Regions from separate parts of the Homo sapiens genome. Here region 1 is linked to region 2. The links are contacts of gene promoters, found by promoter capture Hi-C in blood cells and fetal thymus (Javierre and others, 2016). All regions are on one chromosome and are shown on one strand. The core of a region is centred on a gene start or on the middle of the fragment in contact, and the rest is flanking DNA. Distances in the headings are between cores, read along the strand shown.

Region 1 (5,529 bases), core at 1,235-3,734, 500 kb before region 2:
TCTGCATCTTTCAAAAGCAGCAATTTTTCAGTAGGAATCACTGTTCCTGAAAATGCTAATTCAGATTGATAGTGTGGGAATAGGCAAGTCATTGACAAATTAAAGGCATGATTTGAAAACAAAATTGTCAAGAGGCAGCTATGCTGGTACACAGGAACCTTCTTTGTTGGGTCACAGTTTTCGTTCCAAGCGTTCAATGCAGCAAGTAAGTGATGCCATATTAGCAGGTATCAGCCTGGCTAACATGCCACAGTAAGTAATGCTTATTTGATGTGGCAAGCCTAAGCCCTCCTTCCTTATTTCCCACTGCCTTCTGTTCACAACTCTACAACAACTGTTTTACTTTCTGATGTGATTGGTTGTTTGTATGTCTGCCTTCCTTCTCAACTTACAAGCTCCTCCAGGGCAGGAATTCTGTTTTTCTTTTCTTAGGACCCAGTGCAGTGCCTGGTATAAACAGCAGGCACTTAATAAATATATGTTGACTGAATTATTTTTTAAAGAGTATAACATAACATTTTAAAATCTGTTTTAAGCTGAACCCTATAGCATATATGTGAAACAAATGTGTATATACATACACATATTTACACATATATACACATGTGCACGTATATACACATGCACACATGCATATGTATGTATGTATGAAACTGAAAAGATGGAAAGGGGAAGAGAAGAGAAAAAAGAGGGGAAAGAAAAGGAGAGGAAAAAATGAACTCTGAAAACAGTAACTACCAATGGCTAAACAGTGACTCAATCTGAGTGAGGATTTGAACTGTCCGTAGAAACATCACTTGCTGCCCTTAACCTGTGAGATTTCTTTCGCATTGGTCTATTACCATGTACATGTTTTAAATTTTGGGGGTTTGGACCTCAGAAGCACTGTTCAAAGTACATTACAAATATTTCCCATTGCTTAGGAAGCAGCACATCATTTAAGTTGGGTATATGTGTTGGTGGTGAGTTCAGAAACACTGTTAGCTCAACGTGCCCTGGACTGTGCCCTAATCAGTGTGAGGAGAGTCAGAGTCCAGCAACTGCAATTATAGCCCAACAGGCCACAGGCCAATGTTTATGACTATGCTCTCAAACACAAGCCGCTTATGGCCAGGTGGTTCAATTGTCAAGCACAATAAAGGGACCAGGTAGAAAATTAGCCACACACACACACACACACACACACACACACACACACACACACACACACACACGTACATCAATCCATAGCTATGGAGCCAGAACATCATGTTTACAAGGAAGGAATAGCTCTGTTGGGTGTCAAAGAGTAGGGTCTTGGAGTGGGAAGGTAACTACTTTAATACTGCAGTGGCTTTTCATCACATACTCCATAGCCATTAAAGCTTCTAAGCCAAACCCTCTAGCAAATACATGTTGGCAAAACTATGGAGAATCATAATTCTGTCCTTCTAGAAGCTATCTCCACAGCAAAACAAGCTCCCCCTATCCTGGAGGCAGCTTCTCATTTTCTGTAACACAAAAGCAAATTTTAAAAAGACAAGAATAAGAATAAAAATTAATTATTTCTCATAGGACTTACCTTCCTATAGGCCCCTGAAAACCAGTTAGCACCAATCTTGTACATATTTATAGCATACCTATATATACGTATTTGTATATGTAGCTATACATATATGCATATATATGTATATAGACAGAGATACACACATATATATACACCACTTATAAAATATTGCCAAAATGATTTTAATAAATCTATTCAATTATGTAGGTATGTTTCTAGAGTGACATTTAGAAGAGGGCTAAAATAGCTCATCATAAAGAAAACATGATCAAAACATTTTAAACACTTGTTTCAGAGCATAGCAAATTTGGCAAAAAACACTGGCATTTGCCTGTAACTTCTCTCAGGACTTGAGCTGGCTCTTAATATTTTATGCTTCATGATATATTAATAGTTTTGTATTTGAACGGCTTGTGTAGTGCCCTCTAATCAGATAGAGTTAACCCTGAAGACAAAAATCGAAGTGGCCAATTCCTTTTTAAGGAGTCCTAAACTGATAAGAAGGCCTAAACTGATAAACTCAATAAATTCAAATTTCAAAAATATCATAACCAAAACAAGTAGTTGACATTATACATTTATAAATAGTACTCCCAAGGTAGTGCCAAGTTAAATTTCATACTAAAATGTTAATGAAGAAGCATTTAGATAACCAACTATTTTGTGGATAATGACAGATTAGCAATAATTTTGTGATGAAAGTTGGACTCGGCTATTATATTTAGAAATAAGGACATTTTACTTACACATATGTTTATATGTGGTAACTGTACTTCATCATAGATTTTCGTATGGAACTTACAATAGACCATTCCCTGAATCTTTTGTGATATATGGAACACTCTTCCTAAGTGGACTGCACTGACATCAAAGAACATCTTTGTGACATTATCAAACCTAATGATCAATAGTAAAAGGACAATTCATTGTTGTTTCCAGTTCAAGTTTTAAGAAGGGCTTCCTTAAAGGGTAGATCGTTACGTGTTTTTATAAAGGGTACCTCTATATGTAGATTTGCTTATCTGTGAAAGCACTGCCGCTAGTTGCAAAGTTTTCATTTTCCCCATTACTGGGTCAAGAAAAGTCCTAGCCAAGAGAATGGATTTAGAAAGTCTGTACCTATCAGACTTGGTCTCTCCACTCAAAGAGCCCACAGTCATCTTTTCCCCCCTTTTTTGTGAACTCCCTGTGAGTTGTGCTCTGGGAACTTGGAATGCAGACCTAGACCTGGGCAAGTAGGGGAGAACTGAATTTATGGGAACCAGTTGGAATTTCTCTTAATGTTTCAAGAAGTGTTTTTAGATGGTTTTAGTTACAGTACTTTGGTTCTTCTTGACTTCTATGGAGCAACTTCAACCTAAATCTAAAAGAACAGTTGCTTTTATCCTTCAGTTCTTCAAAAACACTTATTTAACACAATTTCATGCCTAGTCTCTTTCCACTTTTGCAGAGTAGCTTTTTTTCATTTAAAATGTCTAATTCAAGCAATTAGAATTTAGGCACCTCTGGGCACCTTGTCTGCCTACGTGTTTATAAAGCATTATATATACTTACTGCACTCTATAAATAATAACAGTAATCACCCTCTATACAAAATTAGAATGTTAGCATATTCAACCAGTCTAGTATGCTGATTTGCTTTAGTGCTTTATAATTATCTCATGAAACCTATGGTAAAAATGGGCACTACATTATACAATCTTCCCAAAATATGTTACTATATATTCTGGCAAAGAGATGCACCTGCAGTTTATCCCCACCTACCTCTGAGATACAGAAATGGTAGGATGATACTTAAGTTGTATTCATGTTGCAAACTGTTCCAAGTAATCTTTTCAGCCTTTTTCATCCAAAAACCCAGCCAGCATTTAGTATGGTTAAGATATCTTTGTCCAGGAGAAGTAACTTGAACAAGAAGATGGCAATGTATAATTTGCCCCCACATAAAGGATAGCTTGCAAATTATAGACTGCAACATTTAGATAACCAACCACTTTATGGATGATCACAGATTTATCACATGAAACATAGGGCCTAGGGGCAATTATGTAAGCTTTAACCAGTGGTAACTACCAATGGCCACCATTGTAAGCTGTCTGAGTTTCCATTGTCTGATTAAACAGCAATCAGAAGAGTAGCCTTGACTTTGTTGGAAAAACAGTGAACTGCCTCTCACTTTCAAACTCAGAGAAGAGAGCAAAGGCATTCCTGAAAATACAGAAGGAAAAAAAAAAAAACTCTTGGTTTGTGCTAAGCAGCGCTACTTGTCTCTTGCTGCAACAAAGGTGCCAGGTTGAAGTAATGAAGTTAGTACTGCAGCTGAAATCATTGAGCAGATAGGTTACACATCCAAAATACCCATGCCGTCTGAAAATAAATAGTGTGGAAAGAACGGCAGTACATAAAATTGAAAATCTCACACCATTCCACTACCTAAAAAGAGGGAGCTCCCTGGCTTCCCTGCTTTTTGCCTAGGGTTTTGCTTCTGATGCGGTCATGTTATTTTAATGTGCCAGAATAGAAACCTTGGCCAGAGACTTAGGCAGTCAAAAAAATTCCATTGTCTTAAGCTGTATATTTATCCTTCTGAATTAATTGAATATAGCACCATATAGTAAAAATGCCTCTGACACTGCTTCAGAAATACCTAAGGCAGAGTTCTCAGAAAGAACTGCCACAGAGCCAAAATGTTGGCAGAGGCGCTGAGTCTGCAGTCGGCAATCCTAACTCTCCCGCTTCTCTCTGGCAGAACAAAATCCATCGATTTTTACAGCACATGGAGTTTACCTTGGAGGAAGTTATCATTTGAAACATTATCCAATCCACCAACATAATCATTAGGTATGTATGTCTTCACTTGCAGTTGCTTAAAAAAAAAAAGGGGGCCATCTTGAATTAATCCTCAGATTTGTGTGTAAAAGACCATAGCAAATGAGAAATGCAAGGCAAAACGCCCTCCAGGAAGTTCCCATTAAAATGATGAAAGGAGAAGTGTACAGTAACTGCAACTGTTCTCCAGCAACTATTTCTGAACTTTTAAATGACTTATCTTCTTCTTAAAAAACCATCAGAAGACATGTGCTGTTCATGGCTGGGCAGGAAAAAAATGTATTTCAAAGGAGAAATAGTTAGACATGTGGTATGGGTGGGTTGAGGTGAGACAGGGTATCTTTCTAGCTTGAGTTTAAACTTGCATCCCAGAGGTCTATTGATAAGAGCAACGTATCTGTCAAAATCCGCACAACAAACAAAAAGGACTCTAGGTATTTTATGAAAGCAGTAATATACTGTCAGGAATTGGGTGCTCACAAAATCATTGCAGGATCTAGAGGAAAATGTTCTGACCTGAGTCTCCAGAAACGACATGCCAAAAACACAGAGCTGAACTCCTAGGCCAGCCACAGCTTTCAAGGCTGCCTCTGGAGCTCTGATCGTGCTACACCTCTGATCATGCTACACATTTGCTTAGCTGCTGCAGGTGCTCCTGGACCTCCAGAAGGCAGGAGATTACCAGTGCAGAGCAACTGTAATTCATGCAGTCTTCCTTGCCAGCACAATCAGCCAAAGCTGGCAGGAAGATGGGTCTTGCCTCACTTCTTTTTTTTTTTTTTCTGAGATGGAGGGAGTCTCGCTCTGTTGCCCAGGCTGGAGTGCAGCGGCATGATCTCGGCTCACTGCAAGTTCCACCTCCCGGATTCGCCCCATTCTCCTGCCTCAGCCTCCTGAGTAGCTGGGACTACAGGCACCGGCCACCACGCCCAGCTAATTTTTTGTATTTTTAGTAGAGACGGGGTTTCACTGTGTTAGCCAGGATGGTCTCGATATGCTGACCTCATGATCCACCCGCCTCGGCCTCCCAAAGTGCTGGGATTACAGGCGTGAGCCACCGGGGTCTTGCCTCACTTCTGCCATCAAATTCGTGTGTCTGGCTGGTGAGTCTTGCCTGGAATCTAGAACCTTAGATAAAGGAGCCTTGGGAAATG
Region 2 (5,516 bases), core at 2,339-4,838:
AGTGGCACGCAAAATAAAAGGTGCCACATCACAATGATTGCAGTGTTTTAACTGCGAGTGCCACACTGCCCAATCCAACAGAAACGCAGGTCTACACAGCCGAAGAAAACGGTACAATACTTCCATAACTTATAATTAAGTTGAAGTCGGCCAAACATTTGACTTTCTAATGAGTGTAATGAGATTACATGCCTGATGGAAGCATTTGTGCAAAAGCAACTTTCGTGTTTAATGAGGCCCTAATAAAGGACAAAATCGAATTATTTTCTCTCGTTCTGAAATTCTGTCTCCAGTGTGAAATCTTCTTTTAGGAGGAGTGGAGGGAGAGGGCGCGAAGGCTTAAAAGGGGTGAGAGGGTCCACGGCCAAGGGGCTCCCGGGAGCCTTGCGACCCAGAATCTCCGCGTGTCTGGCCAGGCCGCGCTGCGGGGTCGGGCTCGCGGCCTCGCTTTAATTGCTCTTGGACGAGGTCCATGGCACCCGCGGCGCGCGGGGAACCCCTCGGTGGGTCTGAAACTAGGTTAAAGCAATTAGCATGCTGCCAACATATTGTCCTGCGGCAGGGCCGTGAGTATTAGAGGCTATCCGCAATTGTACCTTCGCCCACCAGGCCGCTGCGGCCCACGGAACCACACCCCGCCTGGGCCAGGCCTGCGCCGCACGGGGCTACGGTGCCACGTCAATGAGCGCGTCTCCAGTCCGCGCTCGCGCCAACGCCATCTGCGCGCGCGCCAGGCCTCAGGGCCCAGTGCCGGCGCCCCGGCTCTGGCGGGCAGGGGAGGACGCCCCGAGAGCCCGGGAGGCGCTCTTGGCCACAAAGGAGACAAACCCAAGCCTGGACTCCCAGGCTTTCTGGCTAAGCGACCTCGGCCGCGCCCTCGCTCTTCTCCCCTTCGCTAGGGGGCTACCCTACGCCCCCCGCCTCAGGCTCGCCTTCTCCCCAGGTTGCTGGCCGAGGAGGGCCAAGTTCTGATGAAGGCAAAACGAACTCAGTTTTGGAAGTAAGCCTGTTGCGAAGGTGGCAGGGGTAGCGGGCGGCTTCTTCCTACCTTACCTAAAAGACCCTGGATTTTGTTGAGTGGCCTCCGAGTGGTCTCTAGGCTTTGGCACCGTAGCCTGTCCCATCTCCTTTGTGAGGAGTAAGCCTGAGTTCCAGGTACCTGATGCTGTTGCTGCCGAAGAGGTTGGTCACAGGGCAGCTCAAGAGTAGCCCCTTTCCCAGCCAGTGGAAGCAGAAAGGCCCATTCGCTTAGCCCACTAGCTCCCTGCTCCCACAGTGCACCGCGCGCTCACTTTTATACACCAGGAATAGACAACGTAGGGGTGACCTTGGGTAAGTCAAATGTCATCTCTGAGCCTTAACTTTACCATCTGCAAAATGGGAACAATAAATACTCCAGGATGTATTTGCATAGGGTGTTTGGAAGGTGGCCCAAAATACAGACAAAAGTTGCTGTGTAGGGCAGGCGACCTAGATGAAGTGCTGTCATAGAAAGTTGAGGTCTAATCCTCTAACCTACCCACCTTTAGGCTAAGTCTGAAATGTAGTTTCTTACTAAAAAGCTACACTTTGAGTCTCTGGTTTGGTTAATTTTTACTAAGTTAATTCTTTTTAAAGAGTATCTATCAAATCATGTACTCAAAAACCTTCAGGAAAAGGTGTAAATAGCATTTATTGACAACGCTTAGAAATAAACCATATCTGGCAATAAATAAGCAGGACGTTTTCTGGCCAGAGTTCTCCCAACAACACAGAGTTCAGGAAAATCATAGGCTATTGCATATTTTCAGAAAATCAGGATAAGTTATATAAATTATATATTTAAAAAGAAATCATCTATTTCATCAACTCAACAGGATAATAAATAGATAAATAATAAACAGTTGATTGCCATTCGAAAAATTTGATTCTTAAATTACATTTACATTATAGATATTTACATGTACAATATGCACAGAGACATAATCAGATCTTCAGCCGAGTCTGGGACTTCTCAGGACACAAACTCAAATGGTGGTTCGTTTTCTATGTTGTTGAAGGAAGATTTGCTGTTGAGTTTTCTGGGGTCCTCTGGGGTCCAGACTTTGGCTGTTCGGATAATATTTTGTTCCTTGAGTTGTTTTTCATCAGTCCATGAGAGAGAGTGTCCTGCTAGGGGAGGGAGGCCATAATCAGGGTCGCTGGGGGAGGGGGACCCTGGACAGGTGAGAAGAGAAAACAGACTGTGAATATCCAACCACATTCCCATTGGTCCCATCAGGTCCTTTAGGACCCTTTCCTGGGTGCTCTCCGGTTATACTAGAACCACCCTCTTCCTCCACACTTCAAGTCCCCACCGTCCCCTCCCAGGAATCCGAGGAGCTGCAAGTCTGGCGGGGACGCGCGCCCTTGAGAGCCGCGGTCAACGTGGCAGAAAAATAAAAAAAAAAAAAAAAACGAGAAACGCGAGCTCGCATTCAAGTTTTTCCGTGCCCACCGACAATCCGTCGGTCCGACTGTCTGCTTGGCAGTCAGCTCCCCCAGCCCCTCCGGAGCCTTCGAGTGCCCGACCCCTTCTCCCTGAGCTGGGAAGCGGAAGCACTTACGGGTGCCCCGATGGCAGATGATGACCTTCTGGGCCTGGCTGCCCGGGCTGTCCCCGCCCAGGCGCCCGCCGCCGCCCGGCCCCCCGCAGCCGCCCGCGCCACCGCCGCGCAAGGGCAGGTCGGCCTGCACGAGCTCGCTGAGGAAGTTGATGTAGCCGATGGCCAGGCGCAGCGTGTCCACCTTGGAGAGGCGCTTCTCGTAGGGCAGCGTGGGGATGTGCGAGCGCAGCCCCTCGAAGGCGTCGTTGATGGACTGCATGCGCCGCCGCTCGCGCACGTTGGCCGCCTGCCGCAGCTGCTGCAGCTCCGCCTCGGAGCGCACCCGCCGCCGGCGCCGCGCCGCCGCAGCCGCCGCTCCGCTCAGGCCGCGCAGCCGCGCCCCGGGAGACAGTACTGCCGCCCCGGCGCACGGGTAGGCCAGGCACGAGGGCGGCGAGCCGGGCGAGTAGGGGAAGCCGCCTGGGGGCGCCCCCGTCTCGCAGCAGTAGCCGCCGCCGCCGCCGTCGTCTGGCTCACCGAGGCCCCCCGAGGACGGCGGGGCGAGCGCTAGCGGGGCGGCCGGGGGCGCGGGCTGCAGCAGCAGGCACGCCCCGTCGCGGTAGCAGTACTCGTGGAGCTGGTGGCTAAGGAACTCCACCTCGGCCTGCTCGTCCGCCAGCAGCTCATCGCCGTCCTCCAGGGGGTCCCGTGAAGACTGGTCGGTGAAGAAGTCGTCCTCGTCGAAGTACGAAGAAGGAAAGGCGTCTAGGCCCCCGGGGAAGTGCTCCAGCAACACCGCGTCCATGCTCGCCGCCGCAGTGGGCAGCGGGACTGCCGGGCTGCGCGTGTTAGTTCTTGGTGAGTTTCTAAGGCCCGTCCGAGCCCCTCCCTCCCGGGGCCCTGGCTGGGGGCAGCTAGGCGGCCGCCGGGCTGCCCGCCCCCGGGCCTCCCTGGAGTGCCCGCGGCCGCTGCGCTCTGGCCCGCGCTCGCGCTGCGCTGGGGAGGGCTGTGGCGGACTTCCTGGAGCTGAGGGCCGGCACGCGAGGATTCTTATAACAACATCCATAGGCGCGTGCCAGGGACCCATCGCGCCAGCCAATCAGAGCGCGGTGTGCCGGCGGCGAGGGGGCCCGGAGGCGCGGCGGTGGGCGGGGGTGGGGGGCGTTTTGCTCCCTTTGGGAGCTCCTGGGGCGAGGAAAAGGCGGGGTCGCGCGGCCCGGGGCTCCTCGCACCGCTCTCTTCCCTCTCCTCTGCCTCTGCATACTGGATTCTGTACCTGCCCCGCGTGCGGCTCCAGGGGCACCTGCGTCCCGCGGTGCCCGCTGCGTACCCGCGCGCGCTGAGCAGCGCCGGCTCCTTCCGCCCTGGGACTGGGGCAGCCGCGCGCCGCGTCTACACGCGGCCAGAGAAGTTCCTAGGGGTGCGCGCCGGTGGCCCAGACGGCGAGAGCGGAGCCCGCGCGGCGATCGTCCTCCTCCGCGGCAGCCTGGGCAATCTAAGGGTGCTGCCCTCAGGGACCAGGTGGGTGCATTCCGCCACCCCCTTATCCGAGGTGCGCGGGGCTCCGGCCTGGGTTCTGCTGGGGGCTTCTGTCCCATCTCTGGACTTTTCAAGGGCTTTTGCACAGTTTGCAGAGTATATGCGGGTGTCATTGGAAGGTGATCCGGGCCCACTCCCACTGCGTTCCAGACGCAACACGGGGGCTGGGAGCGCACCTATGGGACTCCGCTCTGGAGCCTGGCTGTGGTGCCTGGTGCGGGTCCCCAGCGACATCGGCTCAGTGGCTGCCTCCCCTGCCCTCCCCGGCCCGGAGAAAGGAATGGGGAGACGGGAGGGGCAGCCCCCAGAGCAGCTCAGCGGGGCGCGTTTCTTCTGAGAGCAAATCTAGACCCTAGGGATTCTGAGCAATAAACTGGATACAAAAGGAGTCCATTGAATCGTCTGCTCCGGCGCAGTCCGGAGGGAAGGCATTGAAGTTAAAGGGCAGAATGTGAATCGTTTTCAAAGCCCGAGTCTCTCACCTTTCCGACTGGCCACAGGGACCATCCCTGAATGACTTGTTTTTTTCTTTCTCGACCTTTCTTTTCTGAAAAAAAAAAAAAACACAAAACGTATGCAGCTCTGCCCCAAGACAGACTTTATCACAGACTGCGATGCAACGTGAATTCCTCTTTTTAAGAGCAACAAAGAAACACTTTCAAGGTCTGGGCAATTCCGGTTAAAAGCCAGGCTGCAGCTTCCACCCCGGGAGAGTTCAGAAGCGCAGCCATCGTGCGTATTCTCTCTACAGAGGACTGAAAGGAGTCGTCCTCCTGGGCCGCTTCCTTTTTCAGGCACTTGTCTCACTAGAGGCTTCTGTTGGGTATTCAGACGCCTCTCAAATTCCAAGTCATGCCTCTTCAGATTAGTGATTTAAATACGCTTCTTGGTTTTAGACATTGCACTGTAATTAACTGAATTGAGAACAAAGAGTTAAACCAAAAGATATATAAGGTTAGAAGGCCAGAGATTGCCTTACCTTGAACTGCCAACAACCCCAAACAATTTTAACCCAAGGACTGACTGGTTTTCAGTAGTTTTTTCCTGTGTTAGTTTCTCAGCCTTCACAGTGAAGGAGTCGTTCACTATTTGCATATCCTTAAAGGCAAATATGGACAGTTTCCCGGTGATAGAGCCTGAGCTGTGATTCTCTGCAATTAGATTTCTCTTTCTGACCTCAAAGGAAGGGAAGGGGTGTGTGTGTGTGTGTGTGTGTGTGTGTGTGTGTGTGTGTATCAAGGCCAGAGATCTAGCCAGCTAGTGATGTGCACCCTCCCCTTCCTCACGTAGACTAAAACTAAGTGGAAACATGCCCGTGCCCGTGGGTCAATGTGAAGACATGCAAGAGTAGCAAATTACCCAGCTTCAAAGCCTTATCGGAAATATTGACAACTATCCACTGCAGAGAAGACT

Evidence for each region. The method cuts DNA at HindIII sites, captures the fragments that hold promoters and counts their contacts. A CHiCAGO score of 5 or more calls a contact.
Region 1: a contact is called between a fragment that was not itself captured here and the fragment with the promoter of PTF1A in region 2, in 1 of 17 cell types (M2 macrophages). The highest score is 5.2, in M2 macrophages.

The regions. Positions count from the first base shown.
Region 1 is chr10:23,687,370-23,692,898 of GRCh38, reverse strand. No RefSeq gene overlaps it. Among named protein-coding and RNA genes, the nearest start is that of OTUD1, 250 kb to the right of the region's middle. The HindIII fragment of the contact is 2,235 bases long and covers 1,367-3,601 here.
Region 2 is chr10:23,190,384-23,195,899 of GRCh38, reverse strand. PTF1A (pancreas associated transcription factor 1a) reads right to left here and starts at 3,588. Exons shown (of 2, transcript NM_178161.3): 1 at 2,586-3,588; 2 at 1,655-2,196. The coding sequence starts at 3,369. The coding sequence ends at 1,994. RefSeq lists an enhancer at 1-699. The HindIII fragment of the contact is 14,718 bases long and covers 1-5,516 here.